Linked DNA regions of Homo sapiens: regions 1, 3, 4, 5 and 6 are each linked to region 2. The links are contacts of gene promoters, found by promoter capture Hi-C in human tissues and cell types (Jung and others, 2019). All regions are on one chromosome and are shown on one strand. The core of a region is centred on a gene start or on the middle of the fragment in contact, and the rest is flanking DNA. Distances in the headings are between cores, read along the strand shown. Region 1 holds the start of FERMT1 (FERM domain containing kindlin 1). Region 2 holds the start of BMP2 (bone morphogenetic protein 2). Region 3 has its middle 41 kb from the start of FERMT1. Region 4 has its middle 14 kb from the start of MIR8062. Region 5 has its middle 23 kb from the start of FERMT1. Region 6 has its middle 11 kb from the start of LINC01751.

Evidence for each region. Contacts are between HindIII fragments. The study calls those that stand out against the background at their distance.
Region 1: a contact is called between the fragment with the promoter of FERMT1 here and the fragment with the promoter of BMP2 in region 2, in 2 of the 25 tissues and cell types used here (IMR-90 fibroblasts and heart right ventricle).
Region 3: a fragment that was not itself captured here is called in contact with the fragment with the promoter of BMP2 in region 2 in 2 of the 25 tissues and cell types used here (dorsolateral prefrontal cortex and hippocampus).
Region 4: a fragment that was not itself captured here is called in contact with the fragment with the promoter of BMP2 in region 2 in 1 of the 25 tissues and cell types used here (dorsolateral prefrontal cortex).
Region 5: a contact is called between a fragment that was not itself captured here and the fragment with the promoter of BMP2 in region 2, in 1 of the 25 tissues and cell types used here (dorsolateral prefrontal cortex).
Region 6: a contact is called between a fragment that was not itself captured here and the fragment with the promoter of BMP2 in region 2, in 1 of the 25 tissues and cell types used here (dorsolateral prefrontal cortex).

The regions. Positions count from the first base shown.
Region 1 is chr20:6,121,086-6,125,464 of GRCh38, reverse strand. It overlaps FERMT1 (FERM domain containing kindlin 1), which reads left to right and starts at 2,435. Exons shown (of 15, transcript NM_017671.5): 1 at 2,435-2,691. RefSeq lists a silencer at 2,430-2,549. The HindIII fragment of the contact is 15,378 bases long and covers 1-4,379 here.
Region 2 is chr20:6,765,974-6,769,859 of GRCh38, reverse strand. It overlaps BMP2 (bone morphogenetic protein 2), which reads right to left and starts at 2,174. Exons shown (of 3, transcript NM_001200.4): 1 at 985-2,174. It overlaps LOC105372517 (a long non-coding RNA gene), which reads left to right and starts at 2,376. Exons shown (of 4, transcript XR_937229.2): 1 at 2,376-2,539; 2 at 3,055-3,460; 3 at 3,852-3,886. RefSeq lists cis regulatory regions at 1,495-1,669, 2,310-2,409, 2,416-3,206, silencers at 2,041-2,090, 2,181-2,230 and promoters at 1,120-2,279, 1,669-2,310, 1,120-3,886. The HindIII fragment of the contact is 20,905 bases long and covers 1-3,886 here.
Region 3 is chr20:6,162,207-6,166,035 of GRCh38, reverse strand. No RefSeq gene overlaps it. Among named protein-coding and RNA genes, the nearest start is that of FERMT1, 41 kb to the right of the region's middle. The HindIII fragment of the contact is 6,503 bases long and covers 1-3,829 here.
Region 4 is chr20:7,384,142-7,387,936 of GRCh38, reverse strand. No RefSeq gene overlaps it. Among named protein-coding and RNA genes, the nearest start is that of MIR8062, 14 kb to the right of the region's middle. The HindIII fragment of the contact is 3,332 bases long and covers 1-3,223 here.
Region 5 is chr20:6,143,551-6,147,625 of GRCh38, reverse strand. No RefSeq gene overlaps it. Among named protein-coding and RNA genes, the nearest start is that of FERMT1, 23 kb to the right of the region's middle. The HindIII fragment of the contact is 5,496 bases long and covers 1-4,075 here.
Region 6 is chr20:7,294,289-7,298,685 of GRCh38, reverse strand. No RefSeq gene overlaps it. Among named protein-coding and RNA genes, the nearest start is that of LINC01751, 11 kb to the left of the region's middle. The HindIII fragment of the contact is 7,428 bases long and covers 1-4,397 here.

The DNA of each region.
Region 1 (4,379 bases), core at 1,186-3,685, 640 kb after region 2:
CAGTAACCGTGTAATAAGTAAAACATAAAGTTAAATTAAAAGCCTAGGACAGCCGGCCATGGTGACTCACACCTGCAATCCCAACAATTTAGGAGGCTAAGATGGGAGGATGGCTTGAGCCCAGGAGTTCAAGACCAGCTCAGGCAGCTAAATTTAAAAATTAGCCAGGCACGGTGGTTCACACCTGTAGTCCCAGCTTGGGAGCCTGAGACATCAAGGCTGCAGTGAGCCATGATCATGCCACTGCACTCTGACCTGGGGGAGAGCAAGACCCTTTCTCAAAAAAAAAAAAAAAAAAAAAAGCCTAGGACACATAATATGGATAAAACTCACAAACATAATGTTGAACACAAGAAGCCAGACACAAAATAGTGCACATGGTCTGATTCCATTTATATAAAGTACAAAGACAGGCAAAACCCTTCTGAGGAGTTAGAAGATAAGATAATGGTTATCCTGGGCCTGGGGTCGGGGGTAGGGGCAGGCAGCGGCAGTGATCATAACTGAAAGGAATAACTAAAAGGGGTCACTAACGGGCTTCCGAGGACTGGTGATGTCCTGTTTCTTCAACTGGGCACTCTTTATACGCTAGTGTCTTTATATACTCTGTATACAGGTGTGTTCAGTTTGCGAAAACTCATCAGCTATACATTCACGATTTGTGCTCTTATCTATATATATTGTGTATATGTATGGGTGTGTATATATATGATACACATTTATATACACACAAGTCACTACATAAAATTACAAGTTTAAAAATTAACCTAGGCCAAGAAGAACGCTTAAAACCAGTCGAATTCTTTAGCACAATGCAGATATTTTCAATTGAAAAGAGAAAAACCATATTGGTATGAATAGATAGAGCCATAATTCAAGGTCACACATAAAATCTTGACCACAGGCTGGGCACGGTGGATCACACCTGTAATCTTAACACTTTGGGAGGCCGAGGCAGGTAGATCACAAGGTCAAGAGATCAAGACCATCCTGGCCAACATCATGAAACCTGGTCTCTACTAAAAATACAAAAATTGTAGTCCCAGCTGCTCGGGAGACTGAGGCAGGAGAATCACTTGAACCCGGGAGGCGGAGGGTGCAGCAGTGAGCCAAGATCGTGCCACTGCACTCCTGCCTGGGGACAGAACAAGACTCCATCTCAAAAAAATATATGTGTGTGTGTGTGTGTGTGTGTGTGTGTGTGTGTGTTTGTGCGCGCGCGCGCGCGCGCACTGACCACAGTCTAAGTTCTAATGGGCCATAAGCAGGGTTTCATGATGTTAAGAGGTAGGGAAGTGGGACCAGATGACCCTTCCCATCGTTGACAAACGCTACCAAGTGAAGACATTCTGTTTCAAGTTTTTAATGATTTTATTTCAATTATAATATCCTATATTTGCCAACAATGTTCAACTAACCTTTTTAAATTAAATGTACTTTCAAACCCATAATAATTCCTGAATATGGTAATGTTTAAGCGAAAACAGATTCAACTTCTAAATTTTATAACTTCTTTATTAAAATTTAAGTGTTCACAAGCCTTTTAATGCAAATCGCTAAAGCCTGTACTATATTGCATGAAATCCCTCCGTGGAAGAGCACGCATTCTATCTCTGTACCTATTTCACAGATGAGGAAACTGTCATTTCCATGTCTGTTTTATTAACCACTGTATTCTCTGAGCCCAGGCCCATTGGGAGGCCTGTAGAGCAGTAAGCACTCAACAAATGTGATTAAATGAACAAAGGAGGCTTGGAGAGGTTGTGTAAACTGCCCAGGTCACCCACCCTTCCTGGGTGGCCCCAGCCCTCTTTGAAAATAAATCCAACAGGAAGGCGACTGGCGGGACCGGTGGTGATCCTGAGGTGAGCCATACCAGGTGTGGCCCAGACTTCCGCATGCAGCCTGCCCTTGGGTCTCCTGGAGTCTCCCCTGGTCGGGAGCCTCAGCCTTCTGGAGACTGACACCACCCTCTTACTCAGAGACGAATCGTTTTGTCGTTGCCTTCACCTCCCTGACCACAAGTGCTCCGGGGCTCTTTCTGAGGGAGGCAGCTGTTCTAGGCGGGAGGCTGGAGTCTCCTGGGCCTGGACGCACCCCGGGGTGTGAGTGATGGGTATGCCTGAAAGGAGGGGAAGTGGCGCGGCTTTAATCATCTGGGCTAGTCCCCGGCGGGCCTGGGGGAACAGGGAAACTGGAGGCGGCCTTAAAGCGTCAGGATGAGACATCGCAAGAGGAGCTGCAGATACTGAGCGTGCGCCCCGGGTTCTCGCCGCCTTCTCTCCGCCGAGCAGCCCTTCGGCCACCCTTTGCCCTTAAAAATCTGCAGACTGCGCCTCCTCTCCGCGGGAGCGAGACCTAGCAGGCCCGGGGCTGGGCGTGCCCTCGCCTGCCACGCTGCGCGCTGCCCTCAGCCGGGCCGCTGGGGCCGTGCAGTGCACCGGGCACGCCGCGCCAGGCTGGGGGCAGGCACCGAGCCTCCGTGGGAGGTCCCGAGGCAGCTTCGCCTGCTCGCCCTGGCTCCAGCCCTCACCTGCCGCAGCCTTAGCTGAGCAGCCGCCGCCACTGGGCGCCCCCCGCTCCCCACTTCGCCAGCGCCCGCTCCTCGGCTCGGCCCGGGGTAGTTTGTAGGGACGCAGCTCTCCACGTGCGCGACTGCGAGGCTGGACGCTACGGGCTCCTGGAAAGGAGGTGGGTGCTCCGGAGCTAGGGCTGGGGAGCTAGAGGTTGGGAGGCTTTCATGGGCACCAGTGGCTCCTGAGCCCCCTTAGCCCCTTTCTTTCTGCAGCCTCTTGTACTTAAATAGCTGTTGATTGAAAATAATTTCGTCTGGATGTGACCACCTTCTCCGGCCCTACGCATCTGGCCGCAAAATAAACTTTCAGTTCAGCCGCAGGTGCTGCCTTAATGGGAGTAAGGGGCATGCTTTATCCACCCAACATCCGCCCCAGGATCCTGCAGAGCTGGCAAAAGACAGGTCGGGTGGCCTTCGAACACCAAGCACCTTCAGATATTCCAGGGGAAGGGTCGGGGACTGTTTCCCCCTCATCTTTCCTCCTTCCTGCTCTCCATCCCTCCATGCTTTCGTTTCTTTGACTGTCTGCGAAGGGCTTTTCAGCACTCTGCCAGTAACTTTGCTTCTTGTTTTGGTCTCCTTAGATGCGTTTTCCCGGCTGAAGTTTGCTGCTATCCTTGACAAGTAACAGCTTGCTGCAGACTAGACGTTCACTCAAAAATGAAGGCACAGAAAGATAGGAAAGGAATGCAGGAAAACCAGCTTGGCTAATTTTAGCCTGCATTTTGTTGTAAGGGGAATCAGCATCTATTGCCTGAATGAGTAGTGTTTTGATCACCCAAGTTAGGAAAAGACCTTATATCAGATTGCCCAGTGAAATAAGCAGTAAGGAATCACCTTTAAAAGTTATTTTCTTTATATACAAAACATTTTAAATAACTAGACTTCACAATTATAGCATTTAAGAAATTGTAAGGATCTTAAAGTCGAACAGTTCAATGCCAAGTTATGAGTTTGACGATGAAGGGGCATCTTTTGTCTCCTCACTGCGCAAGATTTGTGTTGATAGAAATGCTTAGTAAAGGCTACTGAGAATTTAGTTCACGTAGTTTGAGGAGTTTTCTTTCATTTTGGCATTGCAACATTATCAAAGTGGTTTCCCAGTGTGGTGAATAAGAGTTTGAAATAGAAAGGCAGACCTGGATTTCCACCTGGGCTCCAGCATCTAACTTGCTGTGTGACCTCAGGCAACTTGCTTCATCTCTCTGAGGCTGAGTTTCCTCATTTCTAAATGAGATTGCTGAGAGGATGAAAAAGGGATAACAGAAGACAGGAGTTAACACAGAGCACATCATACAGTCAGTAGGTAATAAATGATACCTGAAGCTGATGATGACAGAGGCAAGCAGTTAGGCCTAATGCAGTCACTGAGTGGCACTCCTCATGCAGAGGGTTCTGTGTGGATCTCTGTGCATGGGGAGGAGATGCATTGCATCGTTGCATGCTTCTGACTATAGAAACATAAGGAACGGCTGGGCGTGGTGGCCCACGCCTGTAATGCCAGCACTTTGGGAGGCCAAGGCAGGTGGATCACGAGATCAGGAGTTCAAGACCAGCCTGGCCAGCATGGTGAAACCCTGTCTCTACTAAAAATACAAAAATTAACCGGGCGTGGTGGCACACGCCTGTAATCTCAGCTACTTGGGAGGCTGAGGCAGAGAATTGCTTGAACCCGGGAGGCAGAGGTTGCAGTGAGCTAAGATCATGCCACTGCACTCCAGCCTGGGTGACAGAGCAAGACTCCATCTCAAAAAAAACAAAAACAAAACAAAAACATAAGGAGCTACTTCTGAACTCTTGAATT
Region 2 (3,886 bases), core at 925-3,424:
CCCCAACCAAACCAGCGCCAATGACTGTCACTTTTTTGTGTGTGACACAGCGCTGACAGCCAATGCCGGGAACCTGGGAAAACCACCGCTTGATCTGACACCCTGCGTCCCCTATACAAACCCAAATGCGGAGTGCTGAGCGCTGTCTGGCATATAAACACACATAAATGGTGCATGTGACTTCCTTAGAGGCACTGTATAGAACTTCCTGACACACACACACACACACACACACACACACACACACCCTTATAGCTTCCAGACCCTGTAAGCTCAAGGCCACAACTTCTGAAGCCACTTATGACTTGTGTCCCAGGCCCCTACCCTCAGGGGTGTCTCGAAAGGCAGCTCCATCCCGCATCCCCACAGTGCAGTCAAGATACACATGTATCTTCCCGGGATTACGTAAATGGTGAATATCTATTAATGCACGTGTCAGCTGTTAAAAACACAGTACCAAGTGATCCTTCAGTACTGACCCCTCGCATTTCTGGAAACAAGTAGGGAGAACCCCAAACTCCTAGTACTTTCCTAAATGGGACACGGCTCTGAGCAAAGAAACCAAGTCTCCCGGAAACACTTGAAGAATGGAGATCACCATGGCAGAGCGGACAGGTTCTCAGCTAACGGGTGAAACCCAGGGGCTACCCTCTCAAAGGGATTTCTTTGACCCAAAAAAGTTTTTAAAAAAATTAAAAATAAATAAATAAATAAATAAAACACCTCATCTAAGTGTTAACAGCTCCAAAAGTATTCCAGGGAGAGGGGAAGAAAGAGGGGTGGAAGAGTGCGGGCCGGGAGGGTGAGGCTTACGGTCGCCCGGGGCAGCTGGAAGTGGGAGCCCCTGCAGGGCTCCGTTGCACGTGGACTGGAGAGGGGTCTGTTTACTTCTGGCCTGGACGTAAGGAAGGGCTCTACCGCAGTGGCTGCCCAAATCCCCCTCCCACCCACCACCCACCCCGGGCCCTGGCCCGCGTCCTCTACCTTTAGGAGACCGCAGTCCGTCTAAGAAGCACGCGGGGACACGTCCATTGAAAGAGCGTCCACATGGAAAAACTCTGGTCAAAGGACCTGGCGCAAGGACCGAATGTCCGTTCCTTTTCTTTGCCTCCTCCTTCTCCCGGGTGCCGGCCGCGCAGTCTCTCTTTTCACGCTGGGAACAGCGTCTCAGTGTCGGGCAAGGCCGAGGAGTGGAGGGGCGGTGGGGCTCGGAGATGGCGAAGCAGGCTCCGCTGGGGCAAAGGCACCGGCGCAAAGTGGGGTGCGCAAGTTATTCTCCCTGCAAGTTCAAGAAGTCCCCAGCCAAGTGCTGACACACAACAACAGCGAGCAGGGGGAGGAGTGCGGGGCAGGGAAGGGAAGGGAGAAAGGAGAAGCTGGTGCTGTCGTCCTCCTTAGGAACCAGCGCCCGAGGGACGCGTGGCCCCGCGCGGGGCCGGCTCCGGGACTCGGGGGTCGAGGGTCGGGCGCTCCGCGCTAGCTCCGCCGCGGCCCATGGCTCGGGGCAGCCATCCTGGGCGACGCCGGGTCCAGGGAAGGGCACGGCGGCGATCTCGGTGCCAGGCGAGTTGCCCCCCCGCATCACTCTGCCTTACTCCAGTGCACCCCCATTCGCGCTCGCCAGTTGAAAGCACCGCGGCTCTGGCGCCCCGTCGTCCTCGGGCGCATTCTCCGGCGAGTCGAGCCGAGTCCCGGGCCGCCGAGGCGGGTGGCTGTGCTCTCCCCTCGCTCTCCTAGCCCTGGGGCCAAGTGCCCTTTGTGGCTAGCCTGGGGTCCGATCACACCTCGGCCAGCGCGTCCCAGGCCCCCGATCTCCTGCAGTAGGTGCTCCGCATCGCGGCGCTAGGGATCGGCTCCGGAGTCCCCGGCGCTCTGCGCGCCCGTCCGCGGCTCTGGCGCAGCCCGGGCAGCAGAGGCCACGGCGCTGTGGCGCGCTCTGCCGGGTGCTCCAGCCCGCGCGGGGTCTGCGGCGCGCGGGTGCCTCGCGGTCCCCGGTGATCCACTCGGCGCTGGCCCCGAGAACGTTCGGGTAGCCGGCGGAGGCTGTGGCGGCAGATGTGCGGCGGCGGCTGCCAGTCCCCGGCGGGGTGTGGGAAGCGGAGCGACTAGCGCAGCGCGAGCCGGGCGCAGCGCGGCGGGGCGAGGACTCCGGCGGCGGCGACGGCGGCGGCGGCGCCGTGGCGCGGCGCTCGCGGCTTTTAAAGGGGACGCCGCCTGCCGGCTCCCTCCCGGCCGCGGCCGAACACCTCCCCCTTCGCGGCGCGGCTCGCCGGGGATCCCCGAGCGGGCGGGAGCTGCGCGCAGGGGTGTGGACGGCGCGCCCGGGCAGCCGCGGCGGGGTGGGGCGGAGGGCGGGGGCGCGCGGCCGCCAAGGGGGGCGCTCGCGCCTCCACTCCCTGCTCTCAAAGGAGAGATCAGCTGGCGCGCCGGACCCTCGCGGGGACTCTGGAGGCGAAATCCAGGACAAATGCAGGGTCAGGGTCTGGCCTCTTATTTCCCCGCTGGGCCCGTTATTCAACTTTCAGTTTGAAGTTTTTCGGTAATATACGATTTCAAAAAACAAAACAAAACAAAACACCTCAATTACAGCGTATTTTGGCATAGCATAGACGTGGGATCCACGCTTCTGTTTCCCCGGAATAGGAGGAAAATTAAAAGAAAACAGCAGGCTGGAAATTGAGTGTTTTTAAACATTAATACATAGAGATGTATGTATTTACATATGTAAATGCATGTGTACAAATTTTTTTACATAAATGTGTATGCATTTATTTTCATATCCATACGCATGTAAATTTATAGTTACATAAATATATCCAATATACAAAAATATGTGCATATATTTCTATAAATATATTCATGTATGAGAATATATGCAACCGAAGGGCCACATTTCGGTTAATATGTCTATGTATGTGACATGGATGTCATCCTGCTTTACGTGACATGTGTGTAACGTAGACTGCGTGTGTGGCAGACTGAAGGATGGATGGGAGGGATTTGATTTTTTTATTGTACAATCACTTTGTGCCTTGTGATATTTATCTCACCCAGCTCAGAGGCAGGCGATTAGCAGCTCAGAGGAAGGTAAAATAACGCACTGTGTGAACCAAGCATACAGGACAATTCCAGTTTGGGACCTTGGAACCTTCTACGCCACCCTCTTCCACCAGGCCCCCAAGAAGTAGGGCTGTGACACGTGGCCAAGTCACTCCTCAGCTGAATATTCACTGAAGTCACTCCTCAGCCGAAATACTGCTCAGAGCTGCTGCACGATGAGTCTGGGGCCAAGGCTTTCTGCCCTTCCCAGGATTCCAGGAGCCCCCATGCACAGCACCTCGGGCTTGCCCAAATGATCCCCAAAACCAAGGGCAGAAAATTTTTGGAAAAGGCCAAGTTCTGCTTTCCCAGAGCTATCGGGCCTGCGAAACAGAGAGAAAAAAGTCAGAAGCAGGAGCTGGTAATAGAACTATTATCCATGTGTATTATTTTTTCGGTAGGGGAGCTAAAATAATACTAGGTTCCGCTCACGTAAATCGGATTAGCAACCCACAGAGGCGAATTAGGCACTTGCTGTTTCTAAAGGTATAAAGGTCAAATAAGGTATTTTGGAGGAAGCCTGACTACCAGGAAAATAAAAGGGGGTGGGGGAATTATTCAGGAACATGCTACTTTATTTCCTGAAAAAAAAAAAAAAGGTGCTATAGAAGTTGATTGTCACTCAGAGTCATTGCACCGCAAACAAGGAGGCAATAAAACATATCCTACTCATGGACACAGGGCTTCTGAAATTATTTCCTTTCCTATCAAGTTTAATTGAGAAGTTAACAATTGTTTCTCTCATTACTTAGATTTCAAAAACAAAACAAAACAAAACTTCAATGAG
Region 3 (3,829 bases), core at 1,286-3,785, 600 kb after region 2:
GTCCTGTGATTACAGGCATGAGCCTAGCCCACAACTTTGTTCTTAGTCTGTAGCCTGGCTTCCACCTCTGAAATCTTATTCTTTCCTTCTGTCCATTTTTTTTTAGGAACAAGATATTCATATTATTTGGGGGTCTTTGAACCCCAAAGTAATGTACTTTTTCTACAAAAATTATGCTACATCTTGATGAGTTCACCCTGATTTTTTAGGTTGGTAGGTAGGTTGGTTGGTTTTCCAGTAACTTGGAAGAAGCTGCTCTGGGTCGCTCCCTTCTTCCATCTGATGGTCTTTACCACATGTTCCCTCTTCCCTAACCATGACCAGTTGTACACATCTCCCAGGTGGCTTCCTGGTATAAGTGGCCAAGAACTAGAGTCATTTTAACTTGAATGAATCATGGATAATAATACAAGTCCTGGCATCAGACCTCCCAGACTTTACATCTTGGCTCCATTGTTTACTTGCTGAATGACTTAAGCCAAGTTAGCTAACCAGCCTTCACCTGAAAATGGGACCAGTAACAGCAATTATCTCCAAAGGGTATGTTGGGGATTAAATGAGAAAAATCCATATAAACTGCTTAGAGCTCAGCTGATCAACTAGCCTCAGAACCAACCTTTAACAGTACAGGACACAAAACACTTCAATTTTCAGAAGCAGCACCCTGGTGGGAGACAAGAACATGCTTTGCATTTCTTTAAAGCAAAAAGTTTATGGTCAGTCTCCTAACTCAGCAATAGGCACTGGGAACAGTTCCAGACACCTGCAAAGTGACCAAATTCTAGTTCTTAGATTTGTAGAGACCTGGATGAAGTTAAGAGGACTGTGACTCAGCAGAGTGGCTCTCACTCTGCCAAGTCAGAATGTCGCCATTACCAAATCCCAGCAGGAAACAAAATCCAGGGTCCCTCAAGTTCAGTGAATTCCAAGTAATTAGAATTGAGAGCAAAAGATTGGGCTTTTAACACGACATGTTTATAACATTTGTCACTGAAGTAGGTCAGCTGCTTATGGGGACCATAAATAGTTCTGTCACTTCCCAATTTCCACATCTCACATTTTTTAAAGTTTCTTTTTGAGATCAAAACAATAAAAACAGAGATCAGAAGATGATATATGCCAAGATGTTAAGCAACTATGAATGACCTTTTAATACATGTGCTCGCTTAGTCATGGCTTTCAGATGGCCAGCCTTTCAAGTTGGAATTACAAATAATTCCCTCCGTCAGCAAGTCGCAAACAACCCACTTATCAAAAATTGTCAAATAAATCTGTCACTCAATAAGGGTTACAAGGCATTTGTAAATGTGGCAGAATTCCCAAAGCAACAAGCCCCCCAGCACCCTTGACTGTCTCTTCGGAGGGGAAAAAACAAATGATTGAACAGTTGCCGGAGACTCAGGCAGCCAAGGGGTCGACAGAAGCCAAGAAGGCCAGCTGCAGGCTGCAGGCTCAGCACTTGGCCAGCACACACAGACGCTGTTCATTCTCAGGGCCCACCTGTCAGCCAAGCTGTGCAGGTGTTAGCTGAACAGTGCTTTTGCCTCTCTGGCCCTTCCATGATTCCTAAAGAGAAAGGACTGTGAAAGAAGGACGAGAACACCCATCTGGAATCACAGACTTTCTGAACTTTTAACCCAGAAGAATCCTTAAAGATCCATCTACCTTACCTCCCCCACCTTCCTTCATTTCAGAAGAAAATGGTGCCCTGCAAAGATCACAAGATTTGCCTGGGATTACCAAAGGTAGAAGTCAGAATTTTTCCTGGACCTCTCAACCCCAGCCACTTATTGAGCACTGTAGGAGACAGTCAAGCAAGGGAGGAGATACAGTCTGTCTTCAAAGATGTCCTAACATGGTTCAATGTGAAGGGCCTGGCATACAATGCATGCTCAAAAAATGATAGTGCCTACCCTTCCCCTAAGTAAGCAAATTGAATTCTAGCTGGTAAAGTATCACTTAAAGGCTGCAATGTCAAATACATTTGAAATAGACCGTTAACCCACATTTTTAGCCAAAAAAAAATTTCATTGAAATAAACTATCAAATCTTTAGATCCACTTATAGAACTTTTTTTTCAAAATTCCAATGATTGCCAAAAGACAAAAGTTTCTAACTCTGATTCACCAAAATGAATATTAACGTGAGCAGTCTGACCAAAAGCGGTTCAGAGTAGGTGCTTGCCACTTGAAAGGGTCTTCCAGAAAGTTCTTGCCTGAAATACATTTGTAAGCCCTCCTTTTTCCTGGTCCTTCAGGTATATTTTGTCTTTCTGTTCCCGTTGAGTTCTCATATGATCATATATTGTGTTCATTTTCTCTCTCACTCCCTTGCCTAGTAGGAGGATTTTTCGGTGTCCATTGAGAACATGGGCTTAAGAATCAAACTCTCAGATCTAGATTTCATTTGGGGGACTTGAGTGAGTTGTTCAAAGTCTTAATTTCTTCATCCCTAAAATGGGAATAGTGGTAGAGCTATTCCTAGGCTCTATTAAATTATGTGAGGATTAAATTAAAACAATGCCACTGAGGTATTCAGGAATTTACTATGTGTTGGGGAGTATACTAGACCCCAAAGACACAGTAATGATTAGTGATCAAGACCCCTGTTAGAGCCTAGCACAAAAGAATGGCAAACCCTAAGCCCTAAACAAATAATCACATAAACAAATACACACAGGCAACTCATGTCCACGAGAGGCAAAGGGACTGAAAAGGAAGAAGATGCCAATGGGAATTTTCAGGACATGTGCTTTAAAGCAGAGGGAGCAAAAGAACCACACTTCCTTCCCCGGAGGCTTTATCTGGGACAAGCCCTGAGCTGGTAAGACCCCAACTGCAGATGGATTCTATCAGCATCCCTAGGATCTGTTCTTATCCCAACTCTTCCCAGGAAACTGAGCAAGGGTTCCCTAAAAGTGGAAAAGGAGTCTACACTTATTCCCAAACCACGTGAAGGAGCCATCCCATGTTCTCACCTGGACACAAAGGAGTCTGCTGCTCACCTGAATGATATCAATGAGCTCATCCCACAGCCCTTTTCCTGCCTTGAGGAGAAGTAAGTGGGACAATGACATAGATCAGGAGAATGAAGAAGGTGGGGGCGATGGGTCACCTGGGGGCATAAAAGGCCATTGCTTTTGGGAAGGTGGCCCAAGCAGAGTTGTGAGAACCTGTGTAAGTGCTTCAAAGAGCAGCCTCACCAGGAGGGCCTGCAGGAAAAGCAAACACTGCAGCAAAGTTTTTTGTTGTTATTGCTGCTGTTTTTATAAATCTCTGAACTATTCTACTTTGTTGTTAAAAATGACTAAATTAAGCTTTTAAAAGTAAAATATACCCAAATGAAAGAGAACTGTTATTCAACTCCTGGGGAAGAGAGGGGGGACTTCTTTTGGGCAGAGCATCTTTCCATGCCTATTTTTGCTTCTAATTTCTCTGCTTCAGGACCAGGAAATGTGTCCATCCCTTGGACGGCCCTGTTCAAGAGAATTCCCTGGCAACCTGCTCTCAAGAGCTGACTTTGGAAGTCACCCAATCCTCCGCAGCTGCTCTCCAAGCCCCACAGGCATGGAGTGAGGAAAGGTCAGGCAAAGTGGGGCTGCTTGTGGCCTTGCCTTACTTTGGCATCACTCCGGGTCCAGGGAATGTCCAGCAGGAGCAAATTCCATGAGCCCAGATTCCAGAACAAGTGTGTTTTCACAATGATTCCTGTCAACTCCCTTTTAAACTGACAGAATGCATGTTTCTGATGGCCAGAGTCCAACGCTGAAGTGTGTGTGTGTGTGTGTGTGTGTGTGTGTGTGTGTGTGTAAGAGAAAGAAAAAGAGAGA
Region 4 (3,795 bases), core at 308-2,807, 620 kb before region 2:
GAGATAGAAAAAAAAAAAAGTGAAATGAATGGCCATAGGTGAAAGGTGAGAGAAATGAAATATCAGGTTGTCTCTGAGCTACTGGTGCCAATTTTTTCCTTCGCTATCTTTTACTTTCTGTTTAACCTACATTCAACAACCTTTAATGGAACTCCAATATCTACTGAACAAAATCCTAATACCCAGCTTTGTTGTAAGGAATGCTGTTGGGAATTCTTCCCGATTCCCCAGGCTTTGCCATTTCACAGTTTGCAAATCTGAGTAACAAATATTAATCCTTGCATCTCTTTGCCTGGGAGCTTTGTCTAGCCACCAGAGTCCCCTCTGCTTTGCACATGGAAAGGCAGGAATACCAAGAGATTAACACTTACTATAGAAGTAGCTCTCAATGAATGACTGAGTGTTGATATACAAAATACACTTCTTTACTCCTGAGAAACAACAAACTTGAGGAGTATAGTCAACACTTTTTTCTGTATTCCCTCAGTGATTAAGCTTCAATTGCCCAGAGTAGTTTAGTAATTCACTCTACAGTGGCTTCCTCATCTTCCTCGTCTCACTTCCTTACTCTACCATTGGTGTTTCTGGAACTTTCTAAATTAACGTCTTGCACTTGAATGCTTATCTAAGGGTCTGCTCTTGGAGAAGCCAAGATAAGACACATGGTATTAATATCATTTTCAATCAAGTCCCTTATTGTTCATTTTCAAATGCTGCATGTTCTGTGAAGCATACCACTAGCCCTCCAAAGAGAATGTATTCTCAAGGAGAACTTTGTGACTTTCATGATACTGAATCATACATATATCTGTTTCTGCCCAGTGAGTGTGACCTTTTGGAACACAAGGAACTGTGTTCTATCCACATCAGTGTGCCTAATGCTTAGTACAATGCATAGTACATATAAGATGTTGTGATGTTTTATTTTGTGTATTAACTTGACAGAGCCATGAGGTATTCAGATATTTGATCAAATATTATTCTGTGTATGTCTGCGAGGGCATTTCTGAATAAGTTTAACACATGAGTTGGCAGATAGAGTTAAAGAAGATAGCCCTCCCTAATGTGGGGTGGGGCGGCGGGAGGCAGGGAGTGCTCATCCAGTCTGTTGAAGGCCTGAATATCACAAAAAGGCTGACCTTCCTGTGAATAAGTGAGAACTCTTCCTGTTTGACTGTCTTCAATCTATAACATTGATTATTTTTCTTCCTGCTTTCAGAATCGAACTGAAACGTTGGATCTTTCTAGGTCTTGAGTATACTAACATTTGGAATGTAACTGTACCATTGCCTGTACTGTTTCTCCAGCTTGCCAACTGCTTCTATTTCTCTGAAAGACCTAAAAACCCGAATGCAGATTTTGGTACCAAGAGAGGTTCTAAAGGAACATAATTTTAAAGATGAGTCTTCTAAATTGGGTCTCTAGTTTTTAGAATTTCCTCTTTAATCTGATTAGATTTAAAGATGCTGATGACTCTGTTTCCAATAGTAAAGACAGCACTGATAGAATATGACATGATTTGAAAAAAGATATGCAAAATTATCACCATTGAATACTCCTAATCAACCACTTATAAGAAACAGGGACCCGGGGTATTATGTATGTGATACTTTTGAACATTTTTGTCAAACTAATGAATATAATGAGATTTGCTGTTTGCTTCTAATGTTGCAGGACAAAGTAGGAAAACAAAATGAGACAAGGATTCAAATTCTCAACTCAAGTTCTGCATGAATTACCTGTAAATTTCTATTTATGCCCTGAAGGAGGTCCTCATTTCCTGTACCTGCAGGGCTGAGACTACTGAAACCAACCCAGAATCTCATTCTATGACTGAATGAATAACAAAATTAGTTAAACTCACAGCCTTGCAGAGTGTGGAATGTTAAAGTGAGGACACTGATTGGAAAAGAATGAGATTACAAAGATGAATGGAAATCATAAGACCCTGTTGGAGCTGGAGATGTTGAACACCTAATTCTTTTTAAAATTTATTTTTAAAATTATTTTTATTGATACATAATATTTGTACATATTTGTGGGGTGCATGTGATATTGTATCACATGCATAGACTGTAGAATGATCAAGTCAGGTTATTTGGGGCAGCTGTCACCTTCAATATTTATCATTTTTAGGTATTGGGAACATTTCAAGTTCTCTTTTCAAGTTATTTTGAAAAATACGATACATGGTTGTTAACTGTAGTCACCCTATTCTGCAACCGAACATTAGAACTTATTCCTTCTATCTAACTGTATGTTTGTACCTACTAATCAACCTCTCCTTATCCCCGACTCCCACTCATACACCCTTCTCAGTCTCTGGTATCTGTTATTCTACTCTCTACCTCCATGAGATCAACTTTTTTCATCTTCCACATATGAGTGAGAGAGAATATGGAAAATGTATCTTTCTGTGTCTGGCTTATGATATTTAACACAATGATCTCTCAGTTCCATTCCTGTTGTTAAGAATTACACGATTTCATTCTTTTTTATATGGCTGAATAGTATTCAATTGTGTATATATACCACTTTTCTTTGCCTATGCATTAACAGATACTGCAGTTAATTTTATATCTTTGCTATTGTGAATAGTGCTACTATAAACATGGAGGTACAGATATCCTTTTGATATACTGATTTTTTTCCTTTGGCTATTTGGGCTTTTTTTAGTTCCATGTGAATTTTTGGATTATCTTTTCTATTTATGTTCAAAATGATATTGGTACTTTGATAAGAATTGCATTGAATCTGATGATTATTTGGGCAGTATGGTCATTTTAACAATATTATTTCTTCCAATTCATGAGCATGGCATGCCTTTCCAAGTTCTGTGTTTTCTCCAATTTATTTCATCAGTGTTTTGTAGTTTTTCTTATAGAGGTCTTTCACCTCCTTAGTAAAATTTATTTCTAGATATTGTATTATTTTTATAGCTATTGTAATTGAGGTTGCCTTCTTGACTTCTTTCTCAGCTAGTCCATTATTTGGTGATAGAAATGCTACTGATTTTTGCATGTTGATTTTTTATTCTATTCTTTACTAAATTTATTTATTATATCTAAGAATTTATTGATGGAGTCTTTAGGTTTTCCTAGGTATAAGATCACATCATCTGCAAAGAGGCACAGTTTGATTTCCTTTTTTTCAAAGTACATGGCTTTTATTTCTCTTGACTGATTTGTCTGGCTAGGACTTCCAGAACTATGTTGAATACAAGTAGGAGCACTACATTCTAATGAGTTTCATCCCTAGTTAGAGTGGTATCTCCACTTCTATCTGTGAGGATTAATCTGATTTCCAGAGAAATGGTAGCGGCCCCTCCAGAGGCAGTTGCCATTCAAGACAATGCTGATTTTCCTCAAGTCCCATCCCACTACCCTTCTCCTTCTAGATCTATAATTAGACTCATGTCTGATCAGGTCCTTAAAGGTGAGAAACAAAGTGTGACCCAAGTGGAGATGTGCCATACTCCAAAAGAATTACTTGAGTTTCCTAATTTATGTTGACAAAAATTCAAGAAACATATGTGGAAAAGATATTAAAGGTGTGGGATAGTGATAGAAGACACATAAAGTTGTAGCAGGATGAATTTGATATGGACTTTATTTATGGAATTTATTGCTCTGAAGTCAGTAAGCAGACAATCTGCATTCACTGTTTCAGATTGGGGTGAATTTGAAAGGACTCTAACAGTTTGTTTGATTGGTTAGTTGGTTGAAAACTGAACCAAAAGGTGACCTACAGTGAACAAGTTAGAAATACCATACTTGCTTTGGTTTAACGTATAGT
Region 5 (4,075 bases), core at 286-2,785, 620 kb after region 2:
AATAGCTATCCCCAACCGGCTAATGTGTCAAAAATTATCCAAGCTGATTCACACTCATGAATTTGTTTGATCTTCACAACAAATTTGTTGTGAAGTTTTGTTGTAAAGATTTGTTGGTCTTCCCATCGTGTATCCTCAGTTCCATTTTACAGATGAGGAAACTGAGGTGAGGAAGGAGAAGTAACTTGATTAGGGACCTGCAGCTGGCAATGACAGGCAAGATTCAAATTCAAATCTACCCAGAGTTTGTTGTCCTCTATGCCACAGCACATCTTGGTTTTGTTGCTTTTTCAAAAAGCCCTGATACTGTTAAGATATCAGAGATACCTGGAGAAAACTCCACTCTAAAAATGCACTATTCTGACATTGGGTAAAAATTAAGGAAGTCTGGCCAGGTGCAGTGGCTCACGTCGGTAATCCCAACACTTTGGGAGGCAGAGGTGGGCAGATCACTTGAGGCTAGGAGTTCAACATGGTGAAACCCCATCTCTACTAAAAATACAAAAATTAGCTGGGCTTGGTGGTGCATGCCTGTAATTCCAGCTACTTGGGAGGCTAAGAGAGGAGAATCACTTGAACCCAGGAGGCAGAGGTTGCAGTGAGCTGAAATCATGCCACTGCACTCCAGCCCAGGTGACAGAGCAAGACTCTGTCTAGAGAAAAAAAAAAAAAATTAATGAAATCCAAATAAAGTATAAACTTTAGTCAATAGTAGTATATCAATATTGGTCCACTCGTTGTCACAAATGTACCATAGTAATGTAAGACATTAACATGAGGGGAACCTAAGTGTGAAGTATACAAGATCTCTCTATACTATCTTGGCAACTTTTCTGTTAACCTGAAACTATGAAATATTCTGAAATTAAAAGTTTATTTTTAATAAAACTGTTCCAGGCCAAGTGGGTAAAGACAGAATTTCCACAAAGAAGAATTTTATTTCTTTGCTTTAAGACTTCAATTACTATTAAGTAATTTTATTTAATTAAGGCTTTAAGTAGATTAAATAAAAATGAAAATTTCTAGATATAAGTCTTGTCGATCATTTGCATTCTGTATCCAAATGATCTTGGTTTCTTCTCCTGGTATCAATTTGCTCACAGAAATTTTTTTAAAGGAGCAAACAGACAGGGAAATGGTGTAGTAGTTTTAAAATATGTCCATAGCTTCTTTAATACTACTTCCTTTAAGAGGTGGAGGAAACCGGAAGCCATGTTGTGAGGACACTCAAGCCACCCTGAGAAGAGGCCCGTGTAATGAGGAAATAAGGCCTCCTGCCAAACACCAATATGGACGAGAAGCCTCCTGCCCATAGCCATGTGAGTGTGCCAACTTGGAAGTAGATTCTTCAGCCCTGGTCCAGCCTTCCAACAATGGCAGCCCCAGCTGACAATGTGACTATAACATCATGAGACACCCAGAACCACAGCCAGCCAGCAAAGCCAGTCCAAAATTCCTGACCCACAGAAACTATAAGATAATAAATGTTTACTGAGCTGCTATGTTGGAGGAGTTTGTCATGCAGCAATAGGCAAATCCTTAATTCACCGCCTCCCCTACCTCCACCACACATGGAACTATTCTTCTCTGATCTTTAGGCTCAACACAGGGGGTTTCTAACTGTTTTGTGCCACTGACTTCTTTGTTGATGCATGGGTTTCCTATGGCTGCTATAACAAATGATCACAAATTCAATGGCTTAGAACAACACAGATTTACTATCTTGCAGTTCTGGAGGCTAGAAGTCCAAACAAGTCTTGTGGGGCCAAAATCAAGGCATCAGCAGGTGTTTCCTTGCCTTTTCCAGCTTCCAGAGGCTGCCACACTCCCTGGCTTATGGCCGCCTTCTGTCTTCAAAGCCAGCAATCACTTTATTCCCATCTCTGTTTCCATCACCACATCATCTTCTCTGACTCTGACCCCAACTCTCTTGCCTCCCTCTTTCACTTATAAAGACCCTTGTGGTGACACTGGTCACACTTTGATGCTCCAGGATTAATCTCTCCATCTTAAGGTCAGCTAATTAGCCACCTTAGTTCTATCTGCAACCCTAATTCCTCCTTGCGACATAACATTAACATTTCACGGTTTCTTGGGATTAGGACAGGGACATCTTTGGGTAGCCATTATTCTGCCTGCAGTCAGTTTGGTGAAGCCTGTGGACCCTTTTTCAGGATAACACTTTCAAGTGCATAAAATCACAGACATATGACTCCAAATGAAACTAATTCCACTGAATACAGTTACTAAAATACTTTAATGCAGTTATTAAAATACTTTAAAAACAAATGTGTGATGTAGTAATACATGTGCATCTTTTTTAACATACTAGAAGATCTATAATTGAACTGGTAACTACCTTAATTTCAAAGTGGAGATGAATGTACAGATTCAAGATTGTCTGCAATAAAATGTTCAAGATTGTCTGCAATAAAAAGAACTAAGCTGGAGGCATCACGTTACCCAACTTCAAATTACACTACAGGGTGACGGTAACCAAAGCACCATGATACTAGTACAAAAACAGACACATAGACCAATGGAACAGAATAGAGAACCCAGAAATAAGCCTACACACCTACAACTATCTGATCTTTGAGAACCCTGACAAAAACAAGCAATGGGGAAAGGACTCCCTATTTAATAAATGGTGCTGCAACTAGCTAGCCATATGCAGAAAACTGAAACTGGACACCTTCCTTACAACATATACAAAAATTAAGTCAAGATGCATTAAAGACTTAAATGTAAAACCCAAAAGTATAAAAACTCTGGAAGATGACCTAGGTAATACCATTCAGGACATAGGAATGGGCAAAGATTTCATGATGAAGTCACCAAAAGCTATTGTAACAAAGCAAAAATTGACAAATGGGATCTAATTAAACTAAACAGTTTCTGCACATCAAAGGAAACTATCAACAGAGTAAACAGACAATCTACAGAATGGGAGAAAATTTTTGCAAACTATGCATCTGATAAAGGTCTGATATCCAGCATCTATAAAGAACTTAAACTTACAAAAAAAAAATCAAGAAGTGGGCAAAAGGCATGAACAGACACTTCTCAAAAGAAGACATTCATGCAGCCAGCAATCATATGAAAAAAAGGTCCAGGTCACTGATCATTAAAGAAATGCAAATCAAAACCACAATGAGAAACCATCTCACACCAGTCAGAATGGCCATTATTAAAAAGTCAAAAAATAACAGATGCTGGTGAGGTTGCGGAGAAAAAGGAACTCTTTTACACCATTGGTGGGAGTGTAAATTTGTTCAACCATTGTGGAAGACAGTGTGGTGATTTCTCCAAGACCTAAAAACAGAGATACCATTTGACCCAGCAATCCCATTACTGGGTATATATTCTAAGGAATATAAATCATTCTATTATAAAGACACATGCACACATATGTTTACTGCAGCACAATTTACAATAGCAAAGACATGGAATCAACCTAGATGCCCATCAGTGACAGACTGGATAAAGAAAACGTGGTGCAGGGTCCGGGCGCGGTGGCTCACGCCTGTAATCCCAGCACTTTGGGAGGCCGAGACGGGCGGATCATGAGGTCAGGAGATCGAGACCATCCTGACTAACACAGCGAAACCCGGTCTCTACTAAAAATACAAAAAAAATTAGCCAGGCATGGTGGCGGGCGCCTGTAGTCCCAGCTACTCCGGAGGCTGAGGCAGGAGAATGGCGTGAACCCGGGAGGCGGAGCTTGCAGTGAGCCAAGATCGCGCCACTGCATTCCAGCCTGGGCGACAGAGCGAGATTCCGTCTCAAAATAAAAATAAAGAAAACGTGGTACATATACACCATGGAATACTATGCAGCCATAAAAGCAAATGAGATCATGTCCTTTGCAGGAACATGGGTGAAGGTAGAGGTCATTACCCTTAACAAATTAATGCAGGAACAGAAAACCAAATACCACATGTTCTCACTTATAAATGGGAGCTAAATGATGAGAACATATGGACACATAGAGGGGAACAACACACACTGGGGCATATTGGAGGGTGGAGGGTGGAAGGAGGGAGAGAATCAGGAAAAATAACAATTGGATAGT
Region 6 (4,397 bases), core at 1,769-4,268, 530 kb before region 2:
GAGAAAATATTTGCAAATCACATATCTGATAAGGGATTGATATCCAGAATATATAGAGAATAATTAATATTCAACAACAAAAAACAAAACCCATTTGAAAAATGACCAAGGGTCTTGAATAGACATTTCTTTAAAGAAGACATACAGGTGGCCAATAGGCATGTGAAAAGATGCTCAATATCCCTAATCATTAGGGAAATATAAATAAGAATCATGAGATACAAGTTCAAATCTATTAGAATGGCTATTACTGGAAAAGAAAAACAATTAGTGTTGGCGTGAATGTGAATAAATCGGAAGCCTTGTGCATTGTTGGCTGAAATGTTACCTAGTTCAGACAGCCATTATGATAAACAGTATGATTTTATAAAATTATGATTTTCAAAAAATTAAATGTAGAAGTATAATTTGATTCTAAAATTCTACTCACATACAAAAAATTTGAAAGCCAGGACTTCAATAGACATTTGTATGCCAATGTTCATAGCAACATTATTCCTAATAGCCAAAAGATGAAAACTGCTCAAATTTCCCCCAATGGATGAATGATTAAACAAACTGTGCTTTGTGCACACAAGGAAATATTATGCAACCTTAAAAAGTAATGAAATTCTGATACATGCTACAACATGGATGAAACTTGAAGACACTATGCTAAGTGAAATATCAGATACTGTATGATTCCACGTATGTGAAGTACCTAGAGTAGTTAAATTCGTAAAGACAGGAAGTAGAATTTGCTAGGGCCTGGGAGAAGGGGAGAATGGGAAGTTATTGTTTTCTAGGTTCAGAGTTTCATTATGGAATGACAAAAGTATTTTAGAGATGAATGGTAGTGATGATTGAACAACAGTGTAAATGTACTTAATGGCACTATACTGTAATGCTTAAAAATGGTTAAGATGGCAAAATTTATATGATGTATATTTTCCCACAATTTACAAACATTCTTTAAAAAGGTGAATGGGTAGGTCATCTACATCAAAAGAATAAGTAGGTAGGTTATAGATTATTTCCTGACACAGAAGCCACCAGTAACATAAGTAGGTGGATATACACTCCCCTAACTATAGTGTTATAAAATTGTACCAAAAAAAAAGCTATTGTACACAGAGACAACAAAGAATGCAAGAATGATGGGAACTGTGAAAGAAGTGGAAGGAAACTGGGAAGAAATACTGGAGCAGAAGAAAAATTAGAAAAACAGTTTCGTGCCAGCTTCTGGAAAGCCTTGAATGCCATACTAAGAATTTTGGATTTTATTCTTCAGGTAGTGAAGAGCTTCAGCTTTTTACTAAAATAATGGCTGACCAATGCTACTGGTACAAAAACAGATACATAGACCAATGGAACAGAATAGAGAACTAAGAAATAAGACTGCACATCTACAACCATCTGATCTTCAACAAACCTAACAAAAGCAAGCAATGGGAAAAGGATTTCCTATTTAATAAACGGTGCTGGAAGAACTGGCTGGCCATATGCAAGAAATTGAAACTGGACCTCTTCCTTACACCTTATACAAAAATTATCTCAAGTTAGATTCAAGACTTAAATGTAAAACACTAACTGTAAAAAGCCTAGAAGAAAATGTAGGTAATACTATTCAGGACATAGGCACAAGCAAAGATTTCATGATGAAATCACCAAAAGCAATTGCAACAAAAGCAAAAATTGACAAATGAGATCTAACTAAATGAAAGCGCTTCTGCACAGCAAAAGAAACTATCGTCAGAGCAAATAGACAACCTACAGAGTGGGAGAAAGTTTTTGCAATCTATCCATCTGACAAAGGTCTAATATCCAGAATCTACAATGAACTTACACAAATTTACAAGAAAAAAAAACCATTAAAATGTGGGGAAAGGACATGAAAAGACTCTTCTCAAAAGAAGACATTCATGAGGCCAATAAACATACGAAAAAAAGCTCAATTTCACTGATGGTGAGAGAAATGCAAATCAAAACCACAATGAGATACCGTTTCATGCCAGTCAGAATGGCAATTATTAAAAGTCAAGAAACCAGAAATGCTGGTGAGGTTGTAGAGAAATAGTAAATTAGAAAATAGTAAATTAGAATAGTAAATATAAAATGTAAATTAGTTCAACCATTGTGGAAGTCAGTGTGGCAATTCATCAAAGTTCTAGAACCAGAAATACCATTTGACCCAGCAAGTCCATTACTGGGAATATATCCAAAGGAATATAAATCATTCCATTATAAAGATACATGCATGTGTATGTTCATCGCAGCACTATTCACAATAACAAAGACATGGAATCAACCCAAATGCCCATCGAGGATAGACTGGATAAAGAAAATATAGTACATATACACCATAGAATACTATGCATCCATAAAAAGGAAGAGATCATGTCTTTGCAGGGACATGGATGGAACTAGAAGCCATTATCCTCAGCAAACTAATGCAAGAACAGAAAACCAAACACCACATGTTCTCCCTTGTAAGTGGGAGCTGAACAATGAGAACACATGGACACGGGGAGGGGAACAACACACACTGGGGCCTGTTGTGGGGGGTGAGGGCATGGGGAGGGAAAGCATTAGGAAAAATAGCTAATGCACGCTGGTCTTAATACCTAGGTGATGGGTTGGTAGGTGCAGGAAACCACCATGGCACACTTTTACCTATGTAACAAACCTGCACATCCTGCACATGTACTCCAGAACTTAAAATAAAAATAAAATTAAATAATTTTTAAAAAGGCTTCATGAATTAAAAAAAGAAAGAAAGAATGGCTGGAACAGACAAATACCAGGGATAAAATTCCTATCAAAACATGAACGATGGAGCTAAACTGTATGCAGGAAACCAACCAATTATGCAGTGAGAGAAAGGGAAGTATAAATTTATGAGTGAGCAATAAAATATATTTATGGAAATCGATTTTCTCAAAATAACTCTAGTGAGTTTAAACCTTTCCTTTCCGGTATTTTTATTAAAACATAAAGAAGAAAATACCCACAAGTCTGAGGTTTATGCTGTAAGCATAATCTCCATTTGTTGCAGTTGTTTACAAGAGTGTGCCCGTTTCTAATGTTACGATGTAACTAAAGTTATGATTTCACTCCAGTATAGCCCTTCTTACCTGAACAAAGAGATCATAAAGAAAGTAAAGACACCTACTCTAACCACAAACAGAAGATAAAGTATTATGACAGACTTTAATTTTATGTAAAAATTTTCAAGCAGAATAAATGAAAATAAATTAATATGTATAACATATAAAATACACCCCACATACATTTGCAAAACATAATATTTGAGCTGTGACAATTAAACAGGAAACAAGATGCTCAAGAAAATATGAGGTTTAAGGCCCCCGAAGTATTATTGCTGGACATTTTACTTTTCATTTCTTCAGATTACAGGTTAGGTTTCTAGAGTAGTCGCTTACCCTGGACTTGTCCTTATTCAATCTAGAAAGACTGACTTTTCCTAATATGATGGTCTGCTATAACATGAAGGCATTGGCCAATCTGTGACGTCAAAGGTAACTTCTTGACATTGAGACATCCCTTGAATTACACACTACTTGGTGGACAGTCATCTACTCCCACAGCCCCTCTCTGGTACATGCCATCTCTTAGTAGAGATGAGTGGCTCCTTGCCACATATCAATAGCTGTGTCATGGGACGTCGGCAGCATTCATCACCTACCCCATGATCTTGACCAATTCTGGCCAGAGACAAGTGACAACTTGCCTTATTTTGAAAGGATGCATGTTGCTGCTCTGGCCTTGAGCATACCAGAAAATCTCAGACCTCAAATGCTCCCAGCCTCAATAAGATATCATGAGGTCACGGATTCATCACATATGTTCTTTCCTTTTTGCTATTTTTCCATTATTTTTAATATATACTCAATGAAGTCATCCTAAAAGGAAAAACTAGTATTACTAGTTCAATGGTAAAGAATAAAACGTTGTTCCTCCTGATGTGTGAGCATCCTAATGCTTTACAAGCCCTTATAGAAATTCAAAGTAAGAGCAATGACAACATCTAGAACTTTAAAAGAAACTGTATTTATTAGAAAAAAAGAAAGGAGATACAAACTGAGCAGGGGGTAGGAAGAGGAGCAAGAAGAACTAAGGGGAGGAGCAATGAGCTCTTCTGAAAGGGCAGACTCCAGAAAAGGAACAAAACTGCTGCAGACTTGAAAGCACCACTGTCTATATTATTGTCTGAGTCTTGGAAATCTTATGTTGAGTACAATAAGCTTCATTTATATAAAATTCTAAAATAAATCTATGGTGAAAAACATCAGAAGATTGCTCTTAGGGAACTTCCTGGGATGATGGTAATTTTCTCTACCTTGATAGAGGTTTGGGTTACACAGGTCTATGTATTTAAAATATGCTTACTATTCCAT